Linked DNA regions of Homo sapiens: region 1 is linked to region 2. The links are contacts of gene promoters, found by promoter capture Hi-C in blood cells and fetal thymus (Javierre and others, 2016). All regions are on one chromosome and are shown on one strand. The core of a region is centred on a gene start or on the middle of the fragment in contact, and the rest is flanking DNA. Distances in the headings are between cores, read along the strand shown.

Region 1 (3,493 bases), core at 575-3,074, 700 kb after region 2:
GCACGTGCCTATAGTCCCAGCTACTCAGGAGGCTGAGGCAGGAGAATTGCTTGAACCCGGGAGGTGGAGGTTCCAGTGAACCGAGATCGCGCCACTGTACTCCAGCCTGGCGAGAGTGAGACTCAGTCTCAAAAAAAAAAATTTTTGGCATTCCATACTAGGACTGCCTTTAATTTAAAATAAGATTCCTAATTAGCTGCATGTGGTGGTGCATGCCTATAGTCCCAGCTACTCAGGAGGCTGAGGTGGGAGGATCACCTCACCCTGGGAAGGTCAAGGCTGTGATGAGCTGTGATCATGCCACCACTGTATTCCAGCCTGAGCAACTGCGTGAGACTCTGTCTCAAAAAAAGTAAGATTCCTAAGAATATATTCCTGATATACTCTATGAAGTAATACTCTCATACACAGTCATAATAACTTGTGTTTACATGTATCCTTCCTTGGTTATCACATGGAATTCCAAGACACTACGATTCTCTGTAAAATGAGCAAAAGGAAAATTAAAGACTTTAACTGGTGCTGATCCAAAATAACACAAATTAGAAGAATGATTTTGATTTATGAACTATAAACTTTAGGATAATAATATTTTATATAATTTTTTAGGTAAGAGAATATTTATTGCTCTTTACAAAAAGAGGAAAATTAGTTCAGAAAAGGTATACAGATAATATAAAAATTCTAATATCAGATCAGAATTCCATAAAGTCAAATTTTAACTGAATATTCAATGTCTAATATGACTAGAAATTGAACAGTAGAATGCACAATTGGTTTGCATATCAGGATCTTATGTTTATGACTCTTCAGATATGACCCTGCATTTACTAATTGTGGATGGCCCAGAGGTGCCTAAACTCTTATAAATGACTTTCCACATATCTCTTAAAGTGGTGGGACAGGACTAATTTCTACTCTACTGTACTAGCTGAATATTGCTACTGAGAAAATACTATCAATAGTAGTCAAAGCTACTCTCTTTTGAAAACTTAGAACTACCATCTGTCAGAATGTCAACACCTTTGTTGAAAAATAAAGGGAAATAATGAGACTATAGAAAACTTCAGATAAGTATTTTAAAAAGCAACAAAGAATGTGGGATAATGAGTGACTTTAAAATTCATTCATTCAACAATATTTATTGACAACTATTATTGGGCACGAATACAAAGAGTTCTGGGAATACACCAGAATACAAATTAACGGGACTGCCATTCTTACTGAGATGTGTTCTAAGGGTAAAAAAGAAGCAATTACTCTATTGAGCTTCACTGAGTAGGATCACTGTTTGTATTAATATTGGTACTGCTATTTTGAAATTTATTTATTGTCAATTAAAGGAAATACGGCAATTATTTTTTCTAGGAATAAGATTTTTGATATAAGTTAATATAAACTATTACTAAATAATCTAGTATAAATACATACAGGCACACATAAAGACATTAGTTTACTTTCCATTGGTAGGATGATATCATAGATTGTGACTTTAAGTCAGACAAAGCTGTAGAAAATGTTCGAAGCTCAACTGGATGTAATGGTAAATGTCAGTAACAGTAGTAAAGTAGTTGGAAGTATAAAAGAATGCAACAGTTTATAAAATTCTAAGGTCTTTAGTCTTAGATCGAAAAGATATTTACATATTTAAGAACTCCAAAAATTTTATAGGCCAAAGTTCCCATTTTAGTGGAAAATTTTTCAACATGTAAGTGGCTTTACTCATCAAATTTCAACCATAGACATCAGTTTCTTGGAATGTGCTTGACTAAATATTTAAAACAATCATACCAATGAAAACCACCAGAAATGTTACACAAAATATAATTTAAAAATATTCTTAAAAGCACTGAGGAGCCAACACAGGAATGAATAATTTTCAGGCCAAAATCTCAGTGAGAAAAAAAGTACAGAAGGCAGCATAAAGAGACAGGGAGATGGTAAATATGAAAAAATAATTAAGATACATGGAGGATAGAATGATAAGGTCTAACACACATGTAACTGGACTTCCAGAAATAGAGGAGATGGAGAATGTGATGGAGGCAATGTTGTAGAAGGTAATTCTTGAGACTATTGCCCAACTGATGAAAGATACCAATCGACTGATTCAAGAAATACAACAAATCATCTCAAGATTAAAAAGAAAGGAAAGAAACTCACATCTACAGAAAACTAATGACAAAGAAACTACTTAAAAGCAGACCAAGAGCAAAGACAGATCACTATCAAAGGAGATGCAGGTAGACTGACAGCTGACTTCTCAACAGCAAACATGGAGGGCAAAAAAACATCTCCTCAATGTGGTGGAAGAAAACAGCTGCCAAATTATAATTCTGTACACAGTGAAAATATCTTTTAAGTATGAGGGCAAAATCAAGAGGTATCACTTTTGGCATCTACTATAGATGTAGTGCAGACTGTAAGGAAGTCCTAAAGAACTGCACAGAGATGCAGGCCAGATATCTCAGGCCTCATATTGTGGACTGGGAGGCCATTGGGTTTTAGTATGTCCTGTATATTTCTTAATGATCTTTGCTTGCTCTTGTAGCTTGTTATCACTTGCCAGGAAAAAATGCTTCCTCTCATACTGAATGTCCTTGACCTGATAGATGATTACTATATGACTTTTCCCTGTGTTATTCAAAGAGAGCACTGTAAACTTGGTGTGCTAAGATGGAGAGATAACATTCTATAGAAGAAATCTGCCTGCCCTCCTCATCCCCCAACAAAAAAGCTGCATGTCACAGATACTGTTGATTCAGAACTTGGAAAACAAGTAAGAATCATCTTTTACTTGGCTTGAACAAATAGTGTGACCCTTTTCAAAAGTCACTTATAAGTGGGCTTTACAAACAGCTCTTTAGAAATTACTAACCTAGGCTCTATTTTAAGAGAACATCACAGAACGTCTTGCCATATTATAATATTTTGCTATGCTCAGCTTGCTTCTTAATTCAGTGTACCTAAAAGAATCAATCCACTGTTGTATTTCTAGATTTAAATCATGTGTCTAGAAAGGCCAGTCAAGGAACTGGGTGTACAAGTAGTAGAGATTCTGCATTGCATGTGCTTGCTTTGTTCCTTCCTGTATGAGGCTTTTTAGTTAATAACAAAGTCTTCCTCAAAGCCTTGTGTCTGAGGTCTTACAACAGACACCAGGCTTTTCTATAACAATTCATCAAAATTATTCTTGAGAAGTTTAATAAGCCCATGATAGAGTGGCTAAGACCCCAAGGTCTTCAAGGGAAAAAACATAATCTGCAAACCACCTTCAAAGGAAGATGAGCTGTGTGACAGAAGAGACCCTCATTTTGCCCTGACCAGGTAGCTGAGGTGAATTGCTCTGTATAGTGGAAAGGGGTGAGAAAAGAGGGGTGTATATGAGAATCTGGGAGTGAAGAGAGAAGAACCAGTGAGGATCAGGATACAGATTAGGAAACAAAAACAACCGAACGCCTTGGGAGAATATATTTACTATTCTGGGGTGAGG
Region 2 (3,926 bases), core at 1,236-3,735:
GCCTCAGCCTCCTGAGTAGCCGGGACTACAGGCACCTGCCACCACGCCCGGCTAATTTTCTGTATTTTTAGTAGAGACGGGGTTTCACCATGTTAGCCAGGATGGTCTCGATCTCCTGACCTTGTGATCTGCCCACCTTGGCCTCCCAAAGTGCTGGGATTACAAGCGTGAGCCACCACGCCCAGCCAATTTTTTTTAAGCCCCCAGATGACTCTTAGAATGGGGAAGTGCCTTACAAAATACCCATGCCAAGGTCCCAGCCAAGAACGATCACGTTAAATATGATATCAGAATCTCTAGCAGTCGAAGCTTCGGTATTTTTGTTCTTAGACTCCCCAGGTGATACTTTGAGAGCCATTGACAGGGGGATTAAATGGGATAGACTGGAGGAAAAAAGTGGAGGAGATGACTCTGCAAATATATCTGAAGGATGTTCTACCTTAGAGGATAGAACCAGGATTAATGGGTAGAGATTTTCATTGTCTTTATCCAAGTAATCATAGCATTTTTCTTTTTCTTTGCAGCAGGAAGGGATCTTTGAAATGACGTAGTTCAACTCTTTCAATTTGTAGTTGAAGAAATTAGTGGTCAACAAGGTAAAGTAAGTTGGTCAAGGTCAACTCAGATCTTCTCATTCCAATCCAGCAACAACAATAATAACAGCAGCAACAAAATAAAGTAAGACCCCTCTCCCCATTTCTGGTGATATTTCCAGTGCACCACAAAGGCATTTAAATCCTACTCTCATTTCAATCACAAGCAAAGCAGACAAGAAAAAGGAAAAGGGTGACTCTTCAAGAAACGAGGAGGACTCCTTTAAATGAGGAATTGACATTTTGGAGTACCCGGATTAAATTCAGAGACTGAATCAATCTAAAGACGAAAGCCGGACTCTAGAGCTTGGATGTTGATACCATTGAAACGGTAGGGGCAGAAAAGGTGTGATACTTTCCTCCCCATCATAAGGGGCACGGCAAACATGCTTATAACAAAAGATAGGCTAATAAGAGAAAAGCGTAACAAATTTATTGAATCAAAGTTTTATGTGATACAGGAGCCTTCAGAAATGAAGATGCAAAGACTCAGGGAAAACTGCCTGTTTTTATGCTTAGATTCAGTGAAGAATGGACAGCCTTATAGAAATGTGATTGGACAAAGGGTGTGATCTAATGGTAATAGACTGAGGGTTGAACCCAGCGAGGCCTGTTCAGATTCTTCTTGGCCTCTCTGTGCAGCATGTATAGAGCAGGACCTCTTCTGGAATGAGGGTCTCAGGATCTACTATCAGACAAGGTAGGTCTGAGTATTTCTTCATGGCCAGCTCCTACACAGAAAGGCAGAGGACCAGGGAGGTTGGAGTACTATTTCTAGGTTGTATGACCACCGTAGGGAAGAGGAATTCTGGTTTCTGTGAACTGCTTAGTGGGGAGAAAGTCGGGGGGGAGACAGACTTTGTTTCTAAGGCGGCTTCAGAGGCCTGTTTAGTTTTTTAGTTCAAACTTAGCATACCAAAGTGCCATACGTTGGGGTATACTTTTCTGAGCCTCAACAAATCCAAGCTGAATTTATTAAACAGCAGGTCCTCTTTTGCTCCTCTCTGGGCATCAAGAGAGCTGGCGTGTGCCCTGCGGTGGACTCTCACTGGTGAGATCAGCCCCACCGCACAAAATGAATTAAGAGCTGCAGGGGTCAGAGTAGGGGAGACTTCTCGTAGAAGGGAGGCTTCCATGGATTTCTGAAGATCACACAAGACTTAGATGAGCAGGGGAGCGAACTGTATGGGACAAAGGCCCAGGAAGAGTCGAAATGGGGAAGCCTCGGAGTTCAAGCATCTTCTATAGCGCCCGCTGTCCTAAAGATACCCCATCCCTGGCTAAATGGGTGCTCCAGGGAGAAACTGGGAGGGGAGTTAAAGCTCCGAGAAGGACGGAGAGCGACGGGCTTGGGGACAGATGAACCCTTTTTCCCTGGATGAGCAGTGAGAATGGAGGCCCAGGCGAAGACCCTGTACAGCCTCTGAAGCCTGTGCAGCTCCAGAAGAGAAAGATGCCAAATTAGGGGCGCTGTCTGCTACCCACGCGCGGCCGCGGGCTTCGCGGACCCCAGAGGAATCCAGTGGGAGGGGTCCCCTCTGGGCACCATCCCGCGGCGCAGGTGGGGCGGGTCCCCGCTACGCCCTAGCCAAGCTCTGCCAGGGCCGCCTGTGGGTCCTCACGCTGGTTCCTCCCTCTCGTCCGCCTCGGTGCGCCGGCTCCCGCGCCCGGGCCTTGGGGCGGGTCCCTGCCGCCCGCACCTGCCCCCAGGGGCGGAGCGCGGCGGCAACAACGCGGCCCCAGCCTCCGCCACCGGCCGCGGAGCCGAGCGGCTCTCCGCTCGTCCCCGCCCCCGCCCGTGCACCTCCACTCCGCGGCGCCCGCCCGCCCTCCCTCCCTGTCCACGCGGCCAGTCCGTCCGCTCCTGCCCCCGCCAGAGCCGCGGCGCCTCGCACTTCTGACTCGAGTCCCCGCCGCGCTTGTCGTCGCCGCCGCCGGGATCCGCAGCCCCGCGCCATGGAGCCGGCCGCGGGCATCCAGCGCCGCAGCTCCCAGGGGCCCACCGTCCCGCCGCCGCCCCGGGGCCACGCGCCACCGGCTGCCGCCCCCGGCCCGGCCCCGCTGAGCTCCCCGGTGCGCGAGCCGCCCCAGCTGGAGGAGGAGCGGCAGGTGCGGATCAGCGAGAGCGGCCAGTTCAGCGACGGGCTGGAGGACCGAGGTGAGCGCGAGCTGCCCGACCCGGCCGGCGACCGGGGTGGCTGCTCGGGGCCCGCCTCTCCCCACTCGCGGGCCGCGCTGGGCGAGGCGCGGGGCTCGGAGCGCGCGGGGGCGCGGAGCCCCGACTTCCCGGCGAGAACGCCGCTAGCCGAGAGCGGCAGCCCCACCTTCTGCGGCCGGCACCGCCTCGGCTGCGGTTCCTTCCCTCGAAGCCCAGACCCCAGCTGCCTTCAGGCCGACCCCGCCTGGACTCGCGCCCTCCTCTCCGCCAGCTCCAGGCCCTCCGGCGCCCACGGGAAAAGTTTGCGGGAGGCATTTTTTGCGTTCGGAGTCGAGCGCTTCTGGGCCACTCCGGGCCCTACTCAGCTCGGAGGGACCCAGGCTCGTTGCATCCTCCTTTCCGTAGTCCCCTGCGGCTCCGCCGGCTGCCTGGGAGAACTTCCCTCTGCGGGTGTAGCCGCGAGATGTCCCTCGGCGGCCGCCCGGCTGCCCGCCCCGGCGAAGGGCGCAAGGAGGGGAGCGAGCCGGGACTCGGGCGGCCTCTGGTCTCGGGCAGTCCCCGATTCTAATCGCGGACGCGGGTCACAGTGGGTCCCTGCCCCGTCGTCTCATGATGGGGCAGAGGAATGGGACATTTGGATTTGGGCCACCAACCTCATCTGGATGGATGCCACTGAAACCTGATGTTTCCGGAGGGCGCGTCTGCAGACCCTTCAGAGCTCCCCTCCACTGACACTGGCCTGGAGGTCAGCACACTTGCCTCTGCTGGGAGACCACACTCTGCCTCCCACCGACTGCCGATGCCCCCTTGAGTCGCCAGTGTAGGACGGGAGAGACTCCCTGCTCGTTCCCGCGTCTCTCTTCTCCATCCCTTCCGCGTTTCCTTTGGGCTTGGATTCTTTGCAGAGGGAGCCCTGTTCTTGGCCGCGTCTGCACCTTTTCTACTTCTTGCTGAATCCGAATCCAAATTGTCCCCCTCAGAACGAATCTGTGGTTCTGCTAAAACCGTTTAGTGGCCAAAGAGGGATTCTTGCAGCCAGGCCCTTTAGGGGAAGCCGGCTCTTTTGCACCTCCACCCCCTTTTCTTGGAAGCCTTATTTTGTTGGCTATGGCGGGTTTATATATTTTAGACTTAGCAGGTTTCTGTCCTATTCTTAGTATCTCCTGTACATTTTT

The links. Contacts are between HindIII fragments. The CHiCAGO score rates a contact against its expected background, and 5 or more counts as called.
Region 1: a contact is called between a fragment that was not itself captured here and the fragment with the promoter of TMEM163 in region 2, in 1 of 17 cell types (neutrophils). The highest score is 6.4, in neutrophils.

Annotation. Positions count from the first base shown.
Region 1 is chr2:134,012,977-134,016,469 of GRCh38, reverse strand. The region is part of intron 3 of LOC105373628 (a long non-coding RNA gene); the gene reads left to right. Among named protein-coding and RNA genes, the nearest start is that of MIR3679, 110 kb to the left of the region's middle. The HindIII fragment of the contact is 6,628 bases long and covers 1-3,493 here.
Region 2 is chr2:134,717,559-134,721,484 of GRCh38, reverse strand. TMEM163 (transmembrane protein 163) reads left to right here and starts at 2,485. Exons shown (of 8, transcript NM_030923.5): 1 at 2,485-2,751. The coding sequence starts at 2,550. It overlaps LOC105373629 (a long non-coding RNA gene), which reads right to left and starts at 3,373. Exons shown (of 2, transcript XR_923354.4): 1 at 2,918-3,373. RefSeq lists an enhancer at 1-459 and a silencer at 2,162-2,401. The HindIII fragment of the contact is 5,110 bases long and covers 312-3,926 here.